4 separate regions of the Homo sapiens genome follow, and all the other regions are linked to region 3. Evidence: promoter capture Hi-C in 16 types of primary human blood cells and fetal thymus (Javierre and others, 2016). All regions are on one chromosome and are shown on one strand. Each heading gives the region's core, a stretch centred on a gene start or on the middle of the fragment in contact. The rest is flanking DNA. Distances are from core to core; before and after follow the strand shown.

What was found. The method cuts DNA at HindIII sites, captures the fragments that hold promoters and counts their contacts. A CHiCAGO score of 5 or more calls a contact.
Region 1: a fragment that was not itself captured here is called in contact with the fragment with the promoter of PCDHB12 in region 3 in 1 of 17 cell types (fetal thymus); the score reaches 7.1 in fetal thymus.
Region 2: a contact is called between a fragment that was not itself captured here and the fragment with the promoter of PCDHB12 in region 3, in 1 of 17 cell types (M2 macrophages). The highest score is 9.0, in M2 macrophages.
Region 4: a contact is called between a fragment that was not itself captured here and the fragment with the promoter of PCDHB12 in region 3, in 1 of 17 cell types (M2 macrophages). The highest score is 6.1, in M2 macrophages.

What each region holds. Positions count from the first base shown.
Region 1 is chr5:141,567,231-141,573,670 of GRCh38, forward strand. DIAPH1 (diaphanous related formin 1) reads right to left here. Exons shown (of 28, transcript NM_005219.5): 16 at 6,262-6,440; 17 at 4,696-4,810; 18 at 4,198-4,206. Among named protein-coding and RNA genes, the nearest start is that of DIAPH1-AS1, 12 kb to the left of the region's middle. The HindIII fragment of the contact is 1,623 bases long and covers 4,205-5,827 here.
Region 2 is chr5:140,775,694-140,782,032 of GRCh38, forward strand. No RefSeq gene overlaps it. Among named protein-coding and RNA genes, the nearest start is that of PCDHA1, 7.3 kb to the right of the region's middle. The HindIII fragment of the contact is 642 bases long and covers 1,731-2,372 here.
Region 3 is chr5:141,205,083-141,211,672 of GRCh38, forward strand. PCDHB12 (protocadherin beta 12) reads left to right here and starts at 3,637. Exons shown (of 1, transcript NM_018932.4): 1 at 3,637-6,590. The coding sequence starts at 3,826. The coding sequence ends at 6,213. It also overlaps PCDHB@. RefSeq lists an enhancer at 5,069-5,658. The HindIII fragment of the contact is 7,272 bases long and covers 2,621-6,590 here.
Region 4 is chr5:140,934,881-140,941,194 of GRCh38, forward strand. The region is part of intron 1 of PCDHA1 (protocadherin alpha 1); the gene reads left to right. The region is part of intron 1 of PCDHA2 (protocadherin alpha 2); the gene reads left to right. All of the region lies in intron 1 of PCDHA3 (protocadherin alpha 3), which reads left to right. The region is part of intron 1 of PCDHA4 (protocadherin alpha 4); the gene reads left to right. It also overlaps PCDHA5, PCDHA6, PCDHA7, PCDHA8, PCDHA9 and PCDHA10, and 5 more genes. Among named protein-coding and RNA genes, the nearest start is that of PCDHAC1, 12 kb to the left of the region's middle. The HindIII fragment of the contact is 499 bases long and covers 1,596-2,094 here.

The DNA.
Region 1 (6,440 bases), core at 3,766-6,265, 360 kb after region 3:
GTTGGGGTGTAGAGGGGTATATGAGGGGGCAGTTTAGGTTCCTTTTTTATATCACTAGTGACAGTGAGATGACAACCTGGAGGAGGTATGGTACTTTTTCCATGTGAAGAAGTTCTGGAAACCCCAGATAATAGGGATAGATTTATATTTTTAAATCACAAGGGACTATTATCTTGATATTATAGAACTTCCCAATTTCTTTGTGCTAGTAGTCTGACCCTACTCAAAACCCAAGAGAAGCTAAGTAATTAAAAGGTAAGACTCCCAACAAGTGTTCACTTGACTAGTACCTCTAGTCCTAATCTTACCGATTTGAGTGGAATAAGAAACTGATGGAACAGACATCTTTCTGCTAAGAGACTCACTGAACAAGGTAGAGCAGGCTGAGCTCTCACAAAACCTTGCTGCTAAAGGTTAAAGCTGCAGAAGCTACAAAAATTCACTAATAAAGATGCAACTGGGTGAGTGCCACCTAGTGGACAGAAGAGATATCACAGGGAAAAAGAAAAAGACCCTCAGATTCTTTTTGGGAAAGGGGCTCCTGCTGAAGCCTGAAGCAAGAAAATTATGTCAGGGCAGCAGACAGGTAAACCTATCTGTTACGGCTAACAGTTCTGACTTCTGGAACAACAGTACTGGACCCACACAGTCAAATGCTAACTAGAATACTGTTATTTTTTAATAAAATTCTCAATTCTTAGTGAAGGTCTTTTTAGCCAGAGTTTTTTCTAAATTACTGCCATTAAATATTTGGAGAACTGTTCTGATGCTCACAGTTCACATAACACACCTCTTACTTTAACAAGTCTAATGTTCCATATTGTTTCTGGAAGGAAGGAATAAACCTAAAAATAAAAGTCACTGTACTATTTATTTAAGACATGAGTTATCACTCACCATGCTATGGTTCAAGAGGTGGTAGTGTAATGATCACATAATCAACAAAAGACAGCGAAGAGAAGAAATGGAAAATGAAAAACTAGTTTATCTTGTACATACAAATAATGAGCTGCCTAAGGCTACTACAGCAATGAAAATGCTCCCTTGGAGAAAATGAAACAAAAAAAAAAAAAAAGAAATTTAACTATTGGACCTATTTCCAAGAAATTCAAAAAGAGTCAACAAAGACTCCTTGCTGATCACTATAAGGAAAGTGAGAATGTGAAAAAGGACCAGAAGTTTTATGGCACTGCCTATCAAAAGTAAATTCAAAATATTCTCTGGCAGGGAATAAGTTAACTGAGTAAGTAAATACCTCATTTATGGGAAACAAAGCCTTCAGAAACAAGACACTAATCCTTAAAAGAGAAATAATGTGTAAAAGAATCTGGAGTATAATATTCTAGGACCAGTTCCTGTCTCTCAGCTCTTCTCTTGTAAAAAGGCACACATATTCTGCTTCAGAATATGTGTAACAGGAGACTTTTCACTACAGGAGGCAAATGTGCAGAGTGAGGCAGGTGCTTTCTTCAATGCCCATTCTTGGAGGGGCCAGTAGGTATACCGAAGGTTTTAGGTATCAATAAAACATAAGGGGGATACAGGCATGCTTAACAAATAGCAGAGTTGTGTTTAGCAAGCAAGAGAGGAAATAATGCAATATGATGAAAACCCAGTGTCCAAATAACTTCTTCATCAATACTGGCAACCACCTGGACTGAAATCACCTAAGCAGTGCTTCTACTAGATAAACATGTCTTATTTCTTCAACTGGATTAGTTTTGCTAGAGTTGAATACAGTCAGAATATGCCTTCTCTTTTATAACCCTAAATATCTAGTATCTCACTTACTTTTTTTAATCTATTATTGTTCCCTTTTTTCTACTCAGTCACTGCCAATTCAAGGACATTTGCGTCTGAATGAATGAAGTGGTTCCTGAAGGCGGCATATCCCCTTTCTTGCAGCTTTTGTCTGGATCTAAGCTTTCAGAGGCTCTTAGGGCAAGTACATACACACTTCCTAAGAAGTAGAAGGCTAGAGCAAGGACTTTGGAGTCACTGTTTGGAGTCTGAATTCTGACACTTTTTATACAGTTTGGAAAAAGTTATCTAATCTATGTCACTACTTCATCTGGAAGATGAAATATTTACAAGGTTGATAATGAGTAGTTATCTATCATTTAATTATATCATCAATATCAAGACTATGAATGAGAGACTTGGTAACTGACACTGGCTTCAGCATTCAAACTGAACTGGTTCAATATTCAATTCAGTATTCAAGAATTACTTTTAAAAAGTAGTAAGGATGGCCGGGCACAGTGGCTCATGCCTGTAATCCCAGCACTTTGGGAGGCCAAGGTGGGCAGATCACCTGAGGTCAGGAGTTCAAGACCAGCCTGCCCAACATGGTAAAACTCCATCTCTACAAAAATACAAAAATTAGCTGGACATGATGGTGGGTGCCTGTAATCCCAGCTACTCAGGAGGCTGAGGCAGGAGAATCCCTTGAACCCGGGAGGCGAAGGCTGCAGTGAGCACGATCGCGCCAGTGCACTCCAGCCTGGGCGACAGAGCAACACTCTGTCTCAAAAATAAAAATAAAAATAAAAAAAATAAAAGTAGTTAAGGATGAAGATCTTTTTCTGAAATATAAATACTAGAGATGTTTAAAGCACTGAAGTAAAGTATACTTGCTGTCATACTGAGGAGATCTGGGTCTTCTGAGTGCTTGCAATTTTTGAGAGCTTGAAATTCCTTATCTGACAAAAACCTAAACTCTAAATAAGAAGCACAAAGATCTTTTACTAAAGTTTTCTTTTTATTGGCCTTTTGTGACTAAGGGGGCCACTTTGGTATTTTAAAAAATACTACCATATCCCAATTCATAATGAGAATATAATGCCAAGGAAGACCACTAAACTGTATAAAACCCAACTAGAATTAATAGGAATACAAATGCACCAAATAAAAAGATGGGGATGGGGGTGGGGGGAGAAAAGGGGCCCAGTCAGTATTCATTTGCAATGGCACTAAAAGTGCAGAGCCCAGACTCAAGAAAGAAACTTATGCCAGAGGCCAACATAGGGATTCTGTGAACTTACAAATTAGAAAATCATTTAATTTTGACTTTGTCAACTAGTCTTTATTGATAGACTAATACAGTATATGTGGTTACCATCCCAGTATTTTAATTAAGAGAGTGGAATTAATCCCTTAGGCTGGACTTTGGCATGGAAGGTGACAATTTTCTTAGAGGAAAAGGCCATTTTGACCTGAATGACAGGGCAACAAGACAGATCTGAGCATTATGGTCTTATACTCCTAGATACACACACACACATATGTAACTAGGGGCCACCAAGGCACCTCACAATCTGTTAGACTCCTTATTAGAACAAAGTGCAGCCTGTTTCCATCAGATCACTTAAGGAAAAAAAAAGGAATTGCCTTTAAAAATACTAATTGACTAGGGGGAGGTGGGGAAAATAAATGCTCCAAAGTTGCACTTAATTTTCATCACTAGGGTCATAGTAAGCCTCTAAACAAACAAAAATGCTGGAAGAAGATAAAAATATGAAATTATTGGGCTATAATTGTCATTATACATGACACAATCTTTCAAATACTATCTCAGGGGAAGTAACTATAAGTACCCTATCACAAGGTAGCACAAAACCACAAGAATTAGGAAGTCAAGAAAGAAGAGGGCAAAGTAGATCAGCTCTTGTAAAATAAAAGGAACCATATGAAGGCTAAAAAAGAAAATCAAGAATTTATATAGAAAAAATGGACCAGAAGTCAAGACTCCTGGTTCTGATCACATAACCTTGGGAAAGCTACCTAACTGTTCAGAGTCTATATATGCTACAGAATGGAGATGATACACATCCTGCCTGTCTCATAAGGCTTCTCTGCATATCAAATAGGGTCATATATGTTAAGGCACTATGAAAATTGTAAAACAGCACAAATGTAAGGTAATAGTATTATTGCTTACGTTGTCCCTCACCTTCTAAAGAGATTAAGTATGTGGTAGTTTAACGGGAAGCAAACTTTCCTCCCTATTAGTTAATGCCAAAGCTATTGGTCATTTTGAACTCCAGGGGAGGAAACAAAAACAAAAAACACCTAGCAAAGACAAGTCAACCCTCAATCTCTGGTCTCAGTTTTCTAATGAGAAATTCCTTTATATCTATTTCATCTTTTTCTCTAATATTCAAGAGACCAAACTAAAAGGCTCTTTTGTATTCTTACCTTTGGAAGCTTCAGGAGCAAAGTGCCAGGAGGGAGAAGGCATCCAATATTGGAAAGAAATGGAAGGAAGAAAAGGAATCACATATGGTTCTTGTTACTGTAGACAGTCACTCAGTCACCCAAACTGTTAAAGACTCTTTCCAACCCTTATTAATTATGTACTTAGAACTGGAAACTGCACCTTAAGGCAGTGCCAGAATCTGTTCAAAAGTATCAAAATGGGCCCAAATCAAGCTCTGTCACTTTAATCTCATATCCCTAACAAGTTATACTGATACAAAATACCTACATACAACAGTTCTCTTTCCCAAACCAAGTAACTCCATAATATTTAATACAAAAACATCTTTTCTTTCTTTTGAATGGGAAAATCCATCAGTCTTCCATCCAACATACCCTTTCTATCTTCACCCAGGGAAGGGAAGGGAATAGGAAACCTAATGAAAAAATATTCTAAGCCCTACACTGGACCTTTGCATCAAAGAGGAAGGTACTCACTCTTGGTCTGGGCAGAGAAGGTAAGGGTAAGTTTGGCGAAAAGTTCATTGTTCTCAAAGCGGTCCTCCTTCACCTTTGTCCAGAAGCAGTCCTGGGAGAGGTCCTCAGCCACAAGCTGTGGATAAAGGCAGGGTGTTAAGAATTAGTAAACTGAGCCCTGTACTTTCCGTCCTAGAAAACGGATGAGGCTGTAAAATAGGTGGCTGGCTGATTATCAGCAATGTCTTACTAGAATAAGACTAACTTGAGGCACAGAATAGCTGCAGTGGGATTAGGAGAGAATACTTCCAGTTCATCTGTTAATTGGTGATTATTCAAGAACTAGATTCATATATATACTACGTATCCTCCTCCTAACTCCAAATCCTCTAGCTTCATAACCATTAAGGCTTTATTTCAGAGAAGTCTTGCTCATCATTAAATTTCTCCCACCAGTTTGGCTAACTGTGCCAAATTTGCTCATTTTATGAGCAAATCCCTAAGGTCCTTTATATTAACTTGGTTTCTAGAAGAAAAAGGCTAACTCACTCAGAATCACAGGCATCTCAAACACATCATGGGAACAATACTGTGCATGCAAATATGGCCTATGTAGGCCAGGTGTGGTGGCTCACGTCTGTAATCCCAGCACTCTGGGAGGCCAAGGTGGGCGGATCACAAGGTCAGGAGTTCGAGAGCAGCCAGACCAACATGGTGAAACCCCATCTCTACTAAAAATACAAAAATTAGCCAGGCATGGTGGCACACGCCTGTAATCCTAGCTACTCAGGAGGCTGAGGTTGCAGTGAGCAGAGATTATGCCACTGCACTCCAGCCTGGGCAACAGAGCAAGACTCCAACTCAAAAAAAAAAAAAAAAATGGCCTGTGTAACTCACATCCTGCGGAATTGGGATAGGAGAGTGGATTCATAAATCCATGACTTTGGGATCAGCACAATTATCAGTAGTTTGCAGACTGGTGAATGACTATTATCAAACTGTGTGTTACCATGGTATTCACAGCCTCAGAGAAAAGGCAAAAAACATTAAGTTAAGATTAAATTCAGAATACAGGGTTCACAGAACTCTCCGTGGTGATGTATGGAATAAAGAAGATGCCTAATATCTCCTGAATAAACATAAGCATGAGTGAAGCTTAAAGATAGAAAGATGAAAGCCTTAAGGCGTAGCCCATCCATGCACAAAATACAAAGTAGAAAACTGAAACTGTTTCTTAAGATTGACTGGTGGGCCGGGCGCGGTGGCTCACGCCTGTAATCCCAGCACTTTGGGAGGCCGAGACGGGCGGATCACGAGGTCAGGAGATCGAGACCATCCTGGCTAACACGGTGAAATCCCGTCTCTACTAAAAATACAAAAATTAGCCGGGCGTGGTGGCGCGCGCCTATAGTCCCAGCTACACGGGAGGCTGAGGCAGGAGAATGGCGTGAACCCGGGAGGCGGAGCTTGCAGTGAGCCGAGATCGCACCACTGCACTCCAGCCTGGGCGACAGAGCGAAACTCCGTCTCAAAAAAAAAAAAAAAAAAAAAAGATTGACTGGTGAAGAAATAGACAGAAACTCTTACCTTGGACCAGTTTGGCCTCCGGAGCTGCACCTCTGGCTTATAAAGCTTTTTGGGGGTTAATCCAAATGGCAGAACTGGGGCTGCAGGAACTCCAAATCCAAATGGGGGAGGTGGAGGCATACCCATTCCGGGTGGAGGTGGAGGAATGCCAGGGCCTCCGGGAAATGGAGGAGGTGGAG
Region 2 (6,339 bases), core at 802-3,301, 430 kb before region 3:
TTCCGTTTATGTGATGAATTATGTTTATTAATTTGCGTATGTTGAACCAGCCTTGCATCCCAGGGATGAAGCAGACTTGATCATGGTGGATAAACTTTTTGATGTGCTGCTGGATTCAGTTTGACAGTATTTTATTGAGGATTTTTGCATCAGTGTTCATCAGGGATACTGGCCTGAAGTTTTCCTTTTTTGTTGTATCTCTGCCAGGTTTTGGTATCAGGATGGTACCTCTGTCCAGTTCTGTGCACTTGCTGGAGAAGTGTTGTGATCATTTGGAGAAGAGGCACTCTGGCCTTTTGAGTTTTCAGCATTTTTCAGCCACAGCCTGTATACTGCACTGTGGGGATTACCTCTTGGAACCAAGCTGTCCTGTCTCTCCGGCTCCAGGAGGGGAAAAATGTGGTCTAGAGCTATAGTGATGGCTGCCACCCTCCCCGCTACCCCCAGTTCAGTGTCAGGTAGCAGTGTACTTAGCTAGCAGCTGGAGTAATGTTTGCCTTCCCTCCCGCAGGGAGCTCAGTTTTCTTAGGCAGCTAGCAACCACAGTGATGAGGGCCGCCCCCACCTCAGGGAGCTCAGTTGTCTTAGGCAGCTGACAGCCGCAGTGATGGCTGCCATCTCTCCCCCTGGAAGCTCAGATGGCTTAGACAGCAGGCAGCTGCAGTGATGATGGCGGCTTCTCCTCCGGGAACTCATTACCTTTAGGCAGATTCCAGCAAGAGTGGCTGTTGAGAGTCTGTGCAGCTCTGTGGTTGGGACCCAAGGCCCTGGTAGTATGGGCTCACGAGTGGAATCTTCCGATCTGTGGGTTGCGCAGATCTGTGGAAAAAGCACGGTTTCCCAGGCAAGATAGCATACTCATTCACCACCTTCCTTGGTTGGGGGTGGGGTTTGCCCTTTCTCCATGTGGGCCGACGCAGCACCCTGCTTTTTCTTGCTCTTTATGGGTCACACCAACTGCCTAGTCAGTCCTGATGATAAAACCTGGATACCTCGATTGCCAGTGCAGGATTGACATGCTGTTTTGTTTCTTCTCAATTGGAGCCTCTAACTGCTGCTGCTTCTAGTTAGCCATCTTGGTCCCGCCAAGCTCAAGACATTTTTATAAGGGATGATACCAGCCATTTAGTCCGTCTCTAAAGAGCTGATGGTCCTAAGAATTTAACCATGTCAATGAAGAATTGTTTACATTATTAACTGAAGGAAAATGGATGCTCTTTAAAGATTTTTTAAGATTGGGAAATAAAGAAAAGTCAGAAATAATCACACTGGGGCAGGGCATGGTGGCCCACACTTGTAATCCCAGAACTGTGGGAAGCAGAGGCAGGTGGATCACTTGAGGTCAGGAGTTTGAGACCAGCCTGGCCAACGTGGTGAAAACCCATCTCTATTAAAATATAAAAATTACCTGGGCAAGATGGCACACACCTGTAATCCCAGCTACTCAGGAGGCTGAAGCAGGAGAATCACATGAACCTGGGAGGTGGAGGTTGCGGTGAGCCAAGATCGTGCCACTGCACTCCAGCCTGGGCGACAGAGTGAGACCCTGTCTCGAAAAAAAAGAAAAAGAAAAAAAAGAAATAACCAAACTGGGACTGTATGGTGGATGCCCAGTGATTTTACATGTCAGAATTCTTGTGAAATTGCCCTTGTTGAGAGGAATGAACATGAGCGTTGTTGTGGTGGAGAAGAACTCTATAGTAAAGCTTTCCTGGTTATTTTTCTGCTAAAGCTTGGCTTTCTTAAAACGTTCTCTGGCCCTCCAGAAAGTCAACAAGCAAAATACCTTTAAGATCTGCAAAACCTGTTGTCATGACCTTTGCTTTTTGTGTGTGTTGGGACCTTTGCTTTTGACCAGCCAGCTTTTACTTTGACTAGACAATTTACACCTCTTGATAGCATTGCTTTGATTGTGCTTTGTCTTCAAGATCATACTGCTAAAGCCATGTTTCATCTCCCGTTACAATTCTCCAAAGAAAGTATTCAGAATCTTGATCCCATTGTTTAAAATTTCCATGGAAACTCAGCTCTTATCTGCAGCTGATCTGGGTGCAATTTGGCACCCATTGAGCAGAAATTTGCTCAACTTTAATTTTTTAGTCAGAATTGTGTAAGCTGAACCATCTGGGATGTCTATGGTATTTCCTAGTGTATCTGCTGTTAATCATTGGCCCTGTTCAATTACGGTATGAACAGGACTAATTTGTTTCTTATAAAATGATATGGATAGCCTGTCACTACAGGCTTTATCTCCAACATCATCTTATCCCTTCTTAAAACAAGTTATTCATTTGTACACTACTTATTTCTTTGAGGCATTGTCCTCATAAACTTTTCATAAAGTGTCAATGATTTCATTATTCTTCCACCCAAGCTTCACCATAAATCTGATGTTTGTTCTTGCTTCAATTTTAGTGAATTCATGTTGCTCTAATCGGGAGTCTTTTCAAACGGAAGTCCTATCCTTCTTTGTGGCTTAAACTAGATCCTGCTCAGACATGTTATAACAAGTTAATACAAGTTTATTATGATGCAAACTTTATTTAAATTCATGCATATTTTTTCATAGTACGCATTTTTCATGAACTTTTTGAAGACCTCTTGTATTTTCTGGGAGAGATTAGTATTGGTGTTATTTTTTAAATTAAATTTTTTTTACCTCATACCATGTATTTTTTTTTATTCCTTTGAGACATCGTCTTTGGCCCATGGATTATTTAGAGATACGTTAACATCCAAGTGTTAGAATATTTTTCTTTTATCTTTATGTTATTGATTTCTCCTTTGATTCCATTGTGGTCACAGAACACACTCTGTATGATTTCATGTCTTTTACATTTACTGAGGCTTGTTTTATGACTCAGGGCAAGATGTGTTTTGAGATATGTTTCACTGGCACTTGGAAGAGTGTATTTTGAAATTTTTTTTTTTTGAGATGATGGAGTCTCTCTCTCTCTCTCTCTTTTTTTTTTTTGAGACAGAGTCTCACTCTGTTGCCCAGGCTGGAGTGCAGTGGCATGATCTTGGCTCTTGGCTCACTGCAACCTCCACCTCCCGGGCTCAAGTGATTCTCCTGCCTCAGCCTCCCAAGCAGCTGGGACTACAGGCATGCACCACCACACCTGGCTAATTTTTGTATTTTTAGTAGAGACAGGGTTTCACCATGTTGGCCAGGCTGATCTCGAACTCCTGACCTCAAGTGATCTGCTTGCCTCAGTGTCTCAAAGTGCTGGGATTACAGGTGTGAGCCACTGTGCTCAGCCCGTGATTGTTGAATAGTGTGTTCTATAAATGTCAATTAGTTTCCATTGGTTAGTGATGTTACTGAGTTCTTCTATATTCTTGCTGATTTTCTTTTTAGTTGTTCTGTTATTTGTTGAGAGAGAATTGTTGAAGTCTCCAATTATAATTGTGGATTTATCTGTTTCTCCTTTTAGTTCTATGAGATTTTGTTTCACAGCTCTGTTGTTTGGTGCATACACATTTAGGGTTGCCATGTCTTTTTGGTGGATTGACTCCTTATCATTTATAATTTTCCTCTCTCTCTCTCTCTCTTTTTTTTTGAGACAGGGTCTCACTCTGTCATCCGGACTGGAGTGCAGTGGTGTGATCTCGGCTCACTGCAACCTCCACCTCTCAGGATCAAGTGATTTTCCTGCCTCAGCCTCCCAAGTAGCTAGGATTACAAGCGCGCACCACTACCGCCAGGCTCATTTTTGTATTTTTAGTAGAGAGGGGATTTCATCACGTTGGCCGGGCTGGTCTTGAACTCCTGACCACAAATGATCCACCCGCCTTGGCCTCCCAAGTTGCTGGGATTACATGCATGAGCCACCGCTCCTGGCCTGATTTTCCTCTATATACCGGTAGTTATCTTTGTCTTGAACTCTATTTGATAGATGCTTCTGCTTTCCTTTGATCACTTCTGACTAAAAAATTAAAGTTGAGCAAATTTCTCCTCAATGGGTCCAAAACCATTGCACCTAGATCAGCTGCAGATGAGAACTGAGTTTCCATGGAAATTTTAAACAATGGGATCAAGATTCTGAATACTTTCTTTGGAGAACTGTAACAGGAGATGACACATGGCTTTAGCAGTATGATCTTGAAGACAAAGCACAATCAAAGCAATGCTACCAAGAGGTGCAAATGGCCTAGTCAAAGTAAAAGCAGGCTGGTCAAAAGCAAAGGTCCCAACACACACAAAAAGCAAAGGTCATGGCAACAGGTTTTGGGGATGCTCAAGACATTTTGCTTGTTGATATAGCTTTTACATTTTTAATTTTAATCTCCCTGTATTTTTATATTTCAAGTGAGATACTCATAGGCAGCATGTAATTGGGTCTTTTTTTGATTCACTTAGTCAGTTTTTTTTTCTCTTTCTTTTTCTTTTCTTTTCTTTCTTTCTTTTTTTTTTTTGAGACAGGGTTTTGCTCTGTCACTCAGGCTAGAGTGCAGTGATATGGTGTTGGCTCACTGCAGCCTTGATCTCTCAGGCTCAAGTGATCCTCCCACCTCACCCTCCTAAGTAACTGAGAGTACAGGTGCATGCCACCATGTCCAGCTAATTTTGTTTATTTTTTGTAGAGACAAGGTCTTACTATGTTGCCTAGGTTGGTCTTGAACCCCTGGGCTCAAGAAATCCTCCCACTTTGGCCTTCCAAAATGTTGGAATTACAGGCACAAGCCTCTACACCTAGCCTAAGATTTTTTCTTTTTCATTTATTTTCAAAAGTTTGCCTGTTATATGCCTTGGTGTGGAGTCTTTGGAGTTCACTCACCTCTCTATATTGTTTATCAAATTTGGGAACTTTTTAGCCATTTTTTGAGTTATTTTTAGCCTTGTCTCCTTTGCCTTTTCTTTCAGTACTCCACTGACATGAATGTTGGAGCTTTTGTTAAGTTCCCACATGTCCCCAAGGTACTGTTCTTTTTTATTCTTTTAGTCTATTTTGTTGCTGTTTTTCAAATTGCGTAATTTTTATTTATTTACTTATTTGTTATGTTTTTAGAGATGGGGTCATGCTCTGTTGCCCTGGCTGGAGTGCAGTGGCATGATCATACTGCACCATAACCTCAAACTCCTGGGCTTAAGCAATCCTCCCACCTTCACCTCCCAAAGTGCTGTGATTACAGGTGTGAGCCACTGTGCCCTGCCCAGATTCAGTATTTTCTATTTTTCTTTTAGTTTCCTTATTCTCTTTTTTGACCACTCCATTCTTCTATTTGGGTTTTTATTTTGGTTATTGTACTTTTTTCCAAAATTTTCATTTGGTTCTTTTCATCATCTATTTATTTGCTGAGACTTTCTGTTTCATTGCTGAGGGTTTCTATTTTTTTATTCGTTTCAAGCATATTTGCAATTGCTCATTGAAGCATTTTCATGGTGACTGCTTTAAAATTTTTATCACAGAATTCTAACAGCTCTTTCATCTCATTGTTGGCATTGGTATGTTATTTTTTAAATTTAATTTATCTTCTTGGTTATTGGAATAATGAGTAATTTCTTCATATTGAAACTTGAACATTTTTATATCATGTTTTGAGACTCTAGAGCTTACTTATTCTATTTTAGCTAGTTTCTCCTGACACTGTTCTGTCAGAGAGAGCATTGGCACTACCTCATTACTGTCACTTGAAGATAAAGCCCAAGTTTCCCATAGGCCTACATTGACAAATGCATGGACATGTCCTCTATACTTCTAGGTGGGGTGGAAGTTTTGGCCCCACCATGTGTTCTCCATAGACACTAAGGTAGAGATGCCCTTGTTATCACATGGTGAAAGGTCTTGGCTCTCCACTAAAACCTCCTCTGACATCACCTGATATGGTTTGGATATTTGTCCTCTTCAAATCTCATGTTGAATTGTGATGCCTAATGTTGGAGTTGAGGCTATCAGGAGGTGTTTGGGTCATAAGAGTGCATCCCTCATGAATGACTTGGTGCTATTCTTGGGGTAGTGAGTGAGCTCCCACTCTGTGAGTTCACACAAGATCTAGTTGCTTAAAAGAGTGTGGTATCTCCTTCCTTTTCCTCTTGCTCTCTCTCTAATCATGTGATATGCTGGTTTTCCCTTCGTGTTCAGCCATGATTGGCAGCTTCCTGAGGCCTTCACCAGAAGCAGATGCCAACACCCTGCTTCCTGTACAGCATGCAGGACCATGAGGCAAATAAACCTCCTTTCTTTATAGATTACCCAGTCTCAGATATTACTTCATAGCAACACAAAATGAACTAATACAGAAAATTGGTACCAAAGACTGGGGTGTTCCTATAAAGATATCTGAAGATGTGGAAGCAGCTTTGGAGCTGGGTAACGGGCTGAGATTGGAAGAATC
Region 3 (6,590 bases), core at 2,387-4,886:
GGCTGTCACCCTAGGACTTTAAAAAATATTTTTCTTTGTTGGTCCTTTTTTATAAGATCCAGTACATTCTTCTTTCTTAGTTTACTCACTTATTTTGTTGATGCACATCTCTCAGTACCTTCATAAAAATGGATACAGAGGAAATAAAACTTTTTGAGAGCTTGCTTTGTTATTTTCTTTTTTTTTATTTGATTGATAGTTTGGGCATAACATTCTAGGTTGAAAATAATTTTCCCTCAGATTTCAAAAGCACTGCTCCTTTTATTGACTGCATATAGAATTGCTGTTCAGAAGACTGATTCCATTCTGATTCCTATGTCTTTTTATGTGATTCCCCCCCTTTTTTTCTTTCTTTCTGTGAGCATTGAAAAAAATTCCCCTGGTCTTCTGAAAATACCTTAGTACTGGCTCTTTATTGATTAATCTGGTTATATCGCTATGCCCTGTTCATGTTTAACTTTTCTTTTTTTTTTAAGATGATGTCTCACTGTGTTACCCAGGCTGGAGTGCAGTGGCTATTCACAGGCACAATCACAGCACCCTGCAAGCTCTAACTCGAGAGCTACTTCTGCCTCAGCCTTCCAAGTTGCTGGGACTACAGGCATGTGCTAGACCCCTTGGCTAATGTTCAGACTATCAATTTTATTTCTGAGAAATTTTGGTTGGGCATGGTGACTCACACCTGCAATCCCAGTACTTTGGGAAGCTGAGGCAGGATTATTTGAGGCCCCGAGTTTGAGACCACCCTGGGCAACATAGTGGGAACCTATCTCTACACAAAAACAATTTGTTAAAAGGAATTTCCTTGGTATGTTTTACTCATAATTTCTCCTCTGAGTTTTCTGGATTCTCACTTCAATGAAAATCTCAGTTAAATATTAGACCTCCTAGATTGACTCTATAAGACTATAAGCCATTTTTCCTTTCTTATTTTCTCTTTGCCTCTCATTCCATTTTTTGGACAATTTATTTAATCACTCAATGTTTTATGTATAAGTTTTTCTTTATGACTGAAAAATATTTACTTTTAAGAGTTGTTTTTGGTTCTCTGAATGTTTTTCATGGCATCCTGTCATAGATTTATAAATGTAATATTTTCTCTCATTTATAATTAATCTTTTCTTTAAAAATGCATTAGGCAGTATCATTATTATATATCCATTTTAAAAGTGAAAGTGAGTCTAAGGGGAGTTAAGAACTTGTCCAAGGTAATATAGCTAGTAAAAAGCACTGAAGTCCTAATCTAGTCTTCATCTTACAATAGGAATATGTACTTCATATAGTTACTATTTAGATTAAGTGGATAAATACATACTTCATACAGCTACTATTTAGATTAAATGGATAAATGCATTATGAGGCACTTAGAACAATGAGTAGCATAGAGTAAATACTAAATAAGTATTAGCTTTTATTAGATTTTCTTTCTCTGGGAATATTAACCAGACATTTTCAAAGGCTTTCTTCTGCTTTCTATATTATTGTTCCTTTTTTTTTTCTTGATGGTAGCGATGGTGGTAGTTTTGGTCTTTCTATGTTATGTTGCAGGCATTTCCTCAAATGCCTTGGCTATCTTCTCGTATTTTAGAAGGATGATATATCAAAATGCTGACAATCAACTCTGTGAGCGAACAGTACCTGTTGATGGCAGGGCTTCATTCTAATATAACCATGCTAGGATAAGTCTATTACCTTATGAGATGCCAAATATTAATATGTGTCTTCATTTGGGCTTTCATATTCTCCAGGTTAGAATTCTACAATATACACTATGGGGATAGACTAGGGGTCAGGCATACACTTTGTGTCCTACAGTCTAAGAGTATTGCATGAAAAGGGATTAGAAGTCTCACCATGCAAAATGCAAAGGTTTGCTTACTCTCCCTATTTTCAGTTTGACACCTCACACTTGTGCTCAGCTGTGCCTAGATCCCCAAGACTAGAGAAAGTCCCATTAAATTTCTCCAGAGAATAAACTTTCTATTTTCTGGCTGTGAGTTATGTTTCCATCTATGTAGGGTGATGAGAAGAACAGAGAATTCAATTATCCTCTACACATACTTCCAACTAATAACTTTTTTCCATCCTTAACTGACTTCAGTCTTCTTAAACATCTGGTTCCTCCAGATCTTGCGCTTAAAAGAGATTATGTTTCTTGTGAGTATCTTCAATGCAGGAACTTTACTTTAGGGGCACTTTTTGGAACTGCTAAGTTAATTGCTCTTCCACCTGCTTTCTGTCATAGAAAAATGTATGTGTTCACTTGTGTATTCTTAATCTTTGTTAGTTCCTACCATTTTAATTACTTTTCTGCCATTTTAGTGCATATTTTTTTTTAAAAAGAGAGGTTAATTGTGTGTGCTCAATTCATCTACTTTTCAAGTTTTACCCTTCTGTACCAATTACTATTTCAACCATGTATCCAGCTTACATTTTTAAGAATATTAATTGAATTTAACATTTTAAAATGCAGACTTGTTGGATTCTTCTCCCATCCATTCTTAGTGCACTTTAAGACTTTCTATAGTGAATATCACTGATGAGCCCTTAGCATCTGTTGCAAACAGTCTCCCTCATTTTGTACCAATGAGGTACTTTGGCTAGGACTGAAACCTTCCCAAGCTTAAGAGGTGGTCCCAGACAGGATTAAAACACAGTAATGGCCAGAGACAGGTCTTTAGATTCTAGGACTAAAATCTCCAACTATAATTCTATACCTCTTGAAACAATGATTGCTTCAGTGGCAGACACATGATCTTACTTGGTCTAATTAGAGTGAAAGTTAGGTTTTTGTTCTATGTTTAGGGATAGACTCTTACTTTCTCTTCCTGGGCTGAAAGAGAAAACAGATAGCTACAGTTGTGGCTACAATAAATTTTGGGAACCTAAGGCAAGTCAGCTTTAGGAATAAGAGTCTGCTTTAAATTAAACTAACTTGCTCATGCTTGTGTACTTATGAATTTTTTTGTAAATTATGAAAAACTGGAACTAAATGATGGGTTTACATAACATGTTCCACCCCAATCTCTTGCTTCATTTTCTGCCTGTTCACAATTCATTGCTATTAAGGAAATCTACAGAAGTGCCTTTTTATGCTGTTGTGTTGACCTATATATGCCTCATCTCATGGTTAATCCAGTTTCATAACTTCAGAAAGGATTTCTGAGATGACCTTTCCTTTACCTTATCACGTAAGGAAAGCCAAGTAGTAATAGAATTTCATTCAGCTTAACAATCACTTATACCCTGCTTGTTTCAGGCTTACAATTGTCTCAGAAACACTATGAATTCCTGGGAGCCAGGGATCACATCTTGTATCTGTGTTTACCACAACTGAACACATTTGGTTGTGAGAAGAGTGGGGAAAGACACTGAATAAATGCTTTAAAACAAAATCATCATCACAAACTATAAAGAATATAAAACGATTATTATGGAAGATAAAATATATTTTTAATTACTTCAACAGAAGGAATTATTTAAACGCAATATTTATTTGCTTCTGGAGGACATTTATGTAAATAAAATTTAGGTAGTGTTCATCAAACTGTGAAAATCTGTGGAGACGCGTGGTGGCGCTGCAGGATAATATCAAGAAAAAAATTACCCTGGAGGATGTTGTAGACCCTGTTATCCAGTACACGCGGAGAACTGGGAAGACAGAAAGAACAATCCTTTAAGGGAGAACCTAGAAGCCATTCAACAAGGTTAAAATCTTCAGGCTTCCGAGGATTTGGTAGACAGATCAGAGGCACGTTTCCCACAACTGCGAAGAGGCGCTGAGGCAATTCTGCAAGAAGATTTTGGGGTTTTGGAAAAGAAGCTATGGAAAACGGAGGGGCAGGCACTCTGCAGATAAGGCAAGTCCTGCTTTTCTTTGTTTTGCTGGGAATGTCTCAGGCGGGCTCTGAAACTGGGAACTTTTTGGTGATGGAGGAATTGCAGAGCGGGAGCTTTGTAGGAAATTTGGCAAAGACCCTGGGACTCGAGGTGAGTGAGCTGTCTTCGCGGGGGGCTCGGGTGGTTTCTAATGATAACAAAGAGTGTTTGCAGCTGGACACAAACACTGGGGATTTGCTCCTGAGAGAAATGCTAGACAGGGAGGAGCTCTGTGGCTCCAATGAGCCTTGTGTGCTGTATTTCCAAGTGTTAATGAAAAACCCCACGCAGTTTTTACAAATTGAGCTCCAGGTCAGGGATATAAATGATCACTCTCCCGTCTTCTTGGAAAAAGAAATGCTCTTAGAAATCCCAGAGAACAGTCCTGTTGGTGCTGTGTTCTTGCTTGAAAGTGCAAAGGATTTAGATGTAGGAATCAATGCTGTAAAAAGCTACACAATAAATCCGAACTCTCATTTCCACGTTAAAATAAGAGTCAATCCAGACAATAGGAAATACCCTGAGTTAGTTCTGGACAAGGCGCTGGATTATGAAGAGCGCCCGGAGCTCAGTTTCATCCTCACTGCTCTGGATGGCGGGTCCCCTCCCAGGTCTGGAACTGCCTTGGTCAGGGTGGTGGTTGTAGATATTAATGACAACTCCCCTGAGTTTGAGCAGGCTTTTTATGAGGTGAAGATTCTGGAGAATAGCATCCTTGGCTCCCTGGTTGTGACCGTCTCAGCCTGGGATTTAGACTCTGGAACAAACAGTGAACTATCCTATACCTTTTCCCATGCCTCAGAAGATATTCGCAAGACATTTGAAATTAATCAAAAGTCTGGTGACATTACTTTAACAGCACCTTTGGATTTTGAAGCAATTGAGTCATACTCAATAATCATTCAAGCCACAGATGGGGGAGGACTTTTTGGAAAATCTACAGTCAGAATTCAGGTGATGGATGTAAACGACAACGCTCCTGAAATCACTGTGTCATCAATTACCAGTCCAATCCCAGAAAACACTCCAGAGACTGTGGTTATGGTTTTCAGGATACGAGACAGAGACTCTGGGGACAACGGAAAGATGGTTTGTTCTATCCCGGAGGACATCCCATTCGTGCTAAAATCTTCGGTAAATAATTACTACACTTTGGAAACAGAGAGACCGCTGGACAGAGAGAGCAGAGCCGAGTACAACATCACCATCACCGTCACCGACTTGGGGACCCCCAGGCTAAAAACCGAGCACAACATAACCGTGCTGGTCTCCGACGTCAATGACAACGCCCCCGCCTTCACCCAAACTTCCTACGCCCTGTTCGTCCGCGAGAACAACAGCCCCGCCCTGCACATCGGCAGCATCAGCGCCACAGACAGAGACTCGGGCACCAACGCCCAGGTCAACTACTCGCTGCTGCCGTCCCAGGACCCGCACCTGCCCCTCGCCTCCCTGGTCTCCATCAACGCGGACAACGGCCACCTGTTTGCCCTCAGGTCGCTGGACTACGAGGCCCTGCAGGGGTTCCAGTTCCGCGTGGGCGCCACAGACCACGGCTCCCCGGCTTTGAGCAGCGAGGCGCTGGTGCGCGTGCTGGTGCTGGACGCCAACGACAACTCGCCCTTCGTGCTGTACCCGCTGCAGAACGGCTCCGCGCCCTGCACCGAGCTGGTGCCCTGGGCGGCCGAGCCGGGCTACCTGGTGACCAAGGTGGTGGCGGTGGACGGTGACTCGGGCCAGAACGCCTGGCTGTCGTACCAGCTGCTCAAGGCCACGGAGCCCGGGCTATTCGGCGTGTGGGCGCACAATGGCGAGGTGCGCACCGCCAGGCTGCTGAGCGAGCGCGACGCGGCCAAGCACAGGCTGGTGGTGCTGGTCAAGGACAATGGCGAGCCTCCGCGCTCGGCCACCGCCACGCTGCACGTGCTCCTGGTGGACGGCTTCTCCCAGCCCTACCTGCCTCTCCCGGAGGCGGCCCCGGCCCAGGCCCAGGCCGACTCGCTCACTGTCTACCTGGTGGTGGCGTTGGCCTCAGTGTCGTCGCTCTTCCTCTTCTCGGTGCTCCTGTTCGTGGCGGTGCGGCTGTGCAGGAGGAGCAGGGCGGCCCCGGTCGGTCGCTGCTCGGTGCCTGAGGGCCCCTTTCCAGGACATCTGGTGGACGTGAGTGGCACCGGGACCCTGTCCCAGAGCTACCACTATGAGGTGTGTGTGACTGGAGGCTCCAGGTCAAATAAGTTCAAATTTCTGAAACCAATTATCCCCAACTTCCTACCCCAGAGCACAGGTAGTGAAGTCGAAGAAAATCCCCCATTTCAGAATAATTTGGGTTTCTGATAAAGAATGAAAAATAAAACCTGTGTTTATGAATACATTTATAATTAGGAACTTATCGTGAGGTGCCTGTAAAGTAGTATTTTTGATCACTTCAAATACATACTCTTCAAGTCAAGAAATAAATTTCTTTACATAGAAAAGGATACAGATTTAGTACCAAGAACACTTCACAAAGCAGGAAATGTGCATGTGTAATGGTTTATGTCAAACAATTATGCTTAATATAAAGTCTATTAAGTGGTAAGTCTTGTTTGAGATATTTTAAATTGCTTTCCATTGTTTTCAATATTTACTGTGACTTTTGTTTTCTGAGTTGATTAGAATGCTGTTCGAGTATACCTACCCTAGTTTCAGAAGCATAGATTGTAGTGTACCTT
Region 4 (6,314 bases), core at 595-3,094, 270 kb before region 3:
TTGTTTTAAACCTTTTATTTTGGAATAATTATGGATTCACATAAAGTTACAAAACTAGTATAGAGAGATCCCATGTGCTTGTCACCCACTTTTCCCCAGTGATAACACCCTGAATCCTTTTCATGTGAGTCTTAATAGTCTTTTGAATGCTTCCTTGATTTCTGGTATTACAAGATGTTCAGATTATCTTGTACATTTCCTTTCCCAGAATCAGCCATTTTTCAAAGAGCTTTCACTTATTTTTAGTGAAAGATGATACTTAGAGATATAATCTCAACAACAGGTGTGCTTATTGCTGCTGGGTCAGTTGCTGTTTCTAGGTATCTTCAGCTACTGAGCTAAGGGATGTCTATTTTTTAAAAGATAAAATACATCACATGTTTATACTAATCTAATAAAGTTCAGCACTCCGAGGTTTTTACTTAACTTCATCAATCTTACATTCCTATTTCTCCCATACGTCAAATCCCAGTTTTCATTAACGTCAACAGAATTACTCATTTGTTATCCCACGGGACTCAAACAATGGACTTAGAAAACAATTTCAGCACTACAGAAATAATATGATACTGTAGCAGTTTAAGTTTTTGTCATTCTTTTCATTTATAAGGCACATCCTTACAAATGCCCAGTAGGCATGTACAGTCAAATTATTGTGTTTTAAAGTATCTTGGAAAAGTTCCTCTCTGTGTAGTTAAGCCACCAGCTAGATACAGAGCTAGGCTTTTTTCAAGTCGCTTTCAAATTTAGGGCTTGCTTTTTAAATTTTAATTTTCTTTTATAATTATGTGAAATATTTACATGGCTCCAAAATAAACTTATAAAACAAAATATATTTAGAGAAGTCTAGTATCTATTATTCCATACAATACACATTCTTCCCCACTTTGAGTTTTTTCACTTAAAAATATAAACGAGATTATTTCATAGTAGTATAGTATTTACACATATTCCATACTGCTTAATGGTGTCTTTTGATTAGCAATTAATGAGCTCCAATTTATCAATATTATCTTTTTTTTTTTTTTTTGAGACAGATTCTCATTCTGTTGCCCAGGCTGGAGTAAAGTGGTACAATCTTGGCTCACTGCAATCTCTGCCTCCCGGGTTCAAGCGATTCTCCCACCTCAGCCTCCCGAGTAGCGGGGATTACAGGCACCCACCACCACACCCGGCTAATTTTTATACTTTTAGTAGAGACAGGGTTTCACCATGTTGGCCAGGCTGGTCTCGAACTCCTGACCTTAAGTGATCTGCCCGCCTTGGCCTCCTAAAGTGCTGGGATTAGAGGCCTAAACCACCACGCCCAGCCAAAGTTGTCTTTTTTATTTAGTATTCTTTCTATCCTTTTAAAGAAAACATATCCTGCTTCAAGTCATGAAGATATATTCCTGTGTTTTCTTCTATAACATTGCTATCCAATAGAACTTTCTGACATGCTATAAATTTTCTCTATCTGCATATATGGAATGTGTAGCTACTGAGCACTTGAAATGTGGCTAGTGAAACTGGGCTACTCAATTTTTAATGTTACTAATTTTAATTAATTTAAGCTTAAATAACCACATCTGTTTAGTGGTTGCTGTAGTTCTGGAAGCTTTCTTGTTTTAACTTGCACATTTAGATCTTAAATTACCTGAAATTGCTTTTGAATATAGTGCAATGTAGAAGTCAAGATTTATATTTTCCACTTGTAAATCCAGTTAGATTGCCTACTTTCCTCGCTGCTACTGTGCAGTGCTACCTTTGTCATAAGCAACGTGACTTTATATATTCTGTTTCTGGACTGTCTATTCTGTTTCATTGGTCAACTTGTCTATTCTTGTGCCAATACATTCTGTGTTAAATATAGTAACTTTTCATTTGTATTGATATCTAATTGTGTAAGTTCTCTCACTTTGTTATTCTGCTTCAAGATTAACTTAGCTATTTTTGGCCCTTTGCATTTCTATATAAATTGTAGATTCAGCTTCTCAGTTTCTATTTTAAAAAACCCTGCTTTGATTTTAATTGGCACTATATTGAATCTGTAGAAAATATGGGGTATATTGAAAATATCTTATTTTGATCTTTATTGAATCTATAAAAATATGAAGCTTGTTAACATTGACAATATTGAGACAGACAACCGATTAACAAGGTATATTCTTCCATTTATCTTTTTTTTTTTTTTTTGAGACGGAGTCTCGCTCTGTCGCCCAGGCTGGAGTGCAGTGGCGCAGTCTCGGCTCACTGCAAGCTCCGCCTCCCGGGTTCATGCCATTCTCCTGCCTCAGCCTCCCGAGTAGCTGGGACTACAGGCGCCCGCCACCATGCCCGGCTAATTTTTTGTATTTTTTGTAGAGACGGGGTTTCACCGTGTTAGCCAGGATGGTCTCGATCTCCTGACCTCGTGATTCACCCGCTTCGGCCTCCCAAAGTGCTGGGATTACAGGCGTGAGCCACCGCGCCCGGCTTCTTCCATTTATTTTATTATTTTATCTTAATGTTTATGTGTGTGTATGTGTATATAGGGGTATTGCACAACTTTTATTAGATAGCTGATATTTTAATGCTATTTTAAAAGTTTAATTTTATAATACAAAAATTAGCTGGACATGTTGGCACATACCCGTAATCCCAGCTACTCAGGAGGCTGAGGCAGGAGAATTGCTTGAACCTGCGAGGCAGAGGTTGCAGTGAGCTGGGATCGCGTCACTGCACTCTAGCCTGGGCAACAGAGTGATACTCCATCTAAAAAGAAAAAGAAAGGCAGGGCATGGTGGCTCACGCCTGTAATCCCAGCACTTTGGGAGGCTGAGGCAGGCGGATCACGAGGTCAGGAGATCAAGACCATCCTGGCTAACACGGTGAAACCCCGTCTCTACTAAAAATACAAAAAATTAGTCGGGCGTGGTGGCGGGCGTATGTAGTCCCAGCTACTCGGGAAGCTGAGGCAGGAGAATGGCATGAACCTGGAAGGCGGAACTTGGAGTGAGCCGAGATCGCGCCACTGCACTCCAGCCTGGGCGACAGAGTGAGACTCCGTCTCAAAAAAAAAAAAAAAAGTTTAATTTGATAATTGGCTTTTGTTGAAAGTATATAGAAATAATACTGATTTTATGTTAACTTTGTATCCAATGTTCTTGCTAAATAGTAAAATCTCATATTTTTATATTTTGGGTTTTCTACATATACTGTCATGCTATTCCCAAATAATGTTAGTTTTATTATTGTATTTTTTACTTTCTCTCTTTTTTTAAAAAAATAGAGATAGAGTCTCACTACATTGCCCAGGCTAGTCTGGAGCTCCTGGGCTCAAGCAATCCTCCCACGCCAGCCTCCCAAAGTGCTGGGATTACAGGCATAGGCCACCATGCCTGGTCTTTTAAAAACTTTCTAATCACATAGTTTTCTTGCTTTCTGTCATTGCCTATGAAATTCAGTATAAAATTGAATAGAAGTAATGTTAATGGATAATCTTGTCTTATTCCTGGTCTCAGAGAGGAAGTTTTTAAATATTTAATATGAAATACATTGTTTGATTGGGTTTATTTGCAAAAATCCTTTATCAGATTTATTAAGTTCCCTTTGTTTTTTAATTTATTATGTTTTTTAAAAATCATGAATAGGCATTGAATTTATCACATATTTTCTGTTATTGAATGGATAATATGGATTTTTATCCTTTTATTAATAGCATGCATTATATTGGTTGATTTGTTAATGATAAACCAATCTTGCATTCTTGGAATAAACTCAGGTTGCTTATGATGTATAATCCTTCTTTATATCATTAGACTTAGTTTCCTAACATTTTCTTTACAGTTTTTAAATATATGTTTATGATAGAAACGCGTTTCTACAGAAAAAAATAATTATTTTTAAAGGCATAGTTATTGGGTACTAGACTTAGTACCTGAATGATGAAATAATCGGTACCACAAACCCCTGTGACATGAGTTTGCGTTATAACAAACCTGCCCATGTACCCCTGAACTTAAAAGTTAAGAAGCAACACACACACACACAGATGCGCACACACACACACGCACAAGAAATTGGCTTTTAACTTTCCATTCTTATAATGCTCTAGTCGGAGTTTGGCATCAAGGCTATCCTGGCTTTATATAGTAAGTTAAGAAGTGTTACTTTTCTTTTACTTATTCGGAAGAGTTGTCTTAGTCCATTTGGGCTGCTATATCAAAATAGCATAAACTGGGTGGCTTAAAAACAATAGAAATTTATTTTTCACAATTCTGGAAGCTGGAAAGTTGATGATCAAGGTCCTGGCAGATTTGTGTCTGGTAATGGCCCACTCCCTGGTTCATAAAACAGAATGTCACCTTCTTGCTGTCTCTTCACCTTCTGGAAGGAGCAAGGTAGCTCTCTGGAACCTCTTTTATGAGAGCTGTGCCCTCGTGATCTAATCATCTCTACAAAAGCCCTACCTCCTAATATCATAATCTTAGGGGTTAGCATTTCAACTTATGATTGCAAAGGAGGAGGGAACACAAACATTCAGATCATAGCAAGTTTGTGTAAATCAGCATTTTTTTCTTCCATAAGCATTTGAAGAATTAAGAGTGAAATTTATAGGCCTAGAATTCTCTTCATGAGAATGTTAATTATAAATTCAATGTCTATAACATTAATAGTTATAGAATTATACAGAGCCTCTATTTCTTGTTGTATTAGTTTGGTTAATCAAAATGGAAAATTTTAACATACCTTGCTCAAAAACAGAACAAGGAGACAAAAGAAAATCAATAAGGGTACTGAAAACTTCAATAACAGGAATAACCAACTTGTATGTATGTGTGTGTTGCTGGACATTATCATTTGTGAGATACATTTATATTGTTGTGTGTAGCTGTGTATCATTCATTGTCATTATATAGTATTTCAGGGTGTGAATGGTCAATTTCTATAAATGTTCTGCATGTTCAAGAAAAAGCAGTATTCTGACATTGCTTGTTGTTGTGTTCTGTATATGTCCATTAGGTCATCTTTGCTAGTTGTGTTGTTCAAATATTCTGCATTCTTTTTTATTCTTTTTGTTTGCTTATTTTATCAGTTACTGAGAAAATTATGTTAAAGTGTTCCACGATGAATAGTGAATTGTTTCTCCTTGGATTTTGTCAATTTTTTGTGTCATATGTTTTAAGGCTATTTTATTTTATTAGATTCTTAACCAAATATAAATATGTGATATCTTTCTGCTAAATTGAAACTTTTAGCGTTATGTATTATTTACCTCTATTTCTGCTAGTGATAAACTATTATAGTTTTTGTTTGCCTGAAATGTCATTCTTGATAGATATTTTTACATGGGTGTAAAATTCAAGATTGGCATTTATTTCATTTTGGTACATTAAAGTTACCTCCTCAATATCTTCTGGGTTCCACTGTTGTCTCATTGTGCTGCTTCATCAGTAATTTATTATCTTTCTTCCAATTTTACTAATTTTGTCTTCTTGTGTGTCCAACATGCTATTAAAAGTATTCCTTGAGTTGTTAATTTTGGTTATTGTGTTTTTCATTTTAAAAATTATAATTATTACTGATCAAGTCTGCCATGATATTTTTTATAGGTTTCTGTTCCCTGCAATTTTTTTTTTCAAGACAAGTCTTGCTCCGTCGCTCAGGCGTGATCATAGCTCACTGCAATCTTGAATTCCTGGGCTCAAGTGATTCTCCTACCTTGGCTCCCAAAGTGTTGGGATTTCAGGCATGAGCCGCTGCTCCTGGCTCCTGCAAATATTCTTAAGCTTGTCATTTATTTATTTAAATATATTAAATCTTCATCTGATAATTCCAGAGTCTGAAGTCTGCAAGTGTATACCTGCTGTGTGCTGTTTCAGCTGGACAGCTCCATATTTTTATGTGTGCCAACTTTTATTTGACTTTTGATGGTCCATATCCTGAAAATGATATTTGCCAGGATATCCTGAGATCTTGGATGGAAATACCTTTCTTCACGATAGATTTTTATACACCTTCCAGTGAGTGAATACTACTGCTAGTAAACCACTTTAAATCAAGTTCAAGACTTGAAGCTCCTTGGCTACTTAGACTACGTATTCTCAGATAAAAATATGCAGGATATCTGGTATCTAGTTACAAGTTTATAGGATTAAATTTTCCTTTCCTATTTTCCTTCTGGCCTTTTTGGTGCCAAGTCAAATTCCCCAGCAGTTTTCTGGGCTGGAGAGTAGGTGGGTTTAGTTTTCACATACTATTACTGGAAAGATTAGTCCTTTGAAGTTCCAGCTTAATGTAGTTTGGAGGCCCCATAAGACTCCCCATCTTGAACATCCTGCTTCTTTTTTTTT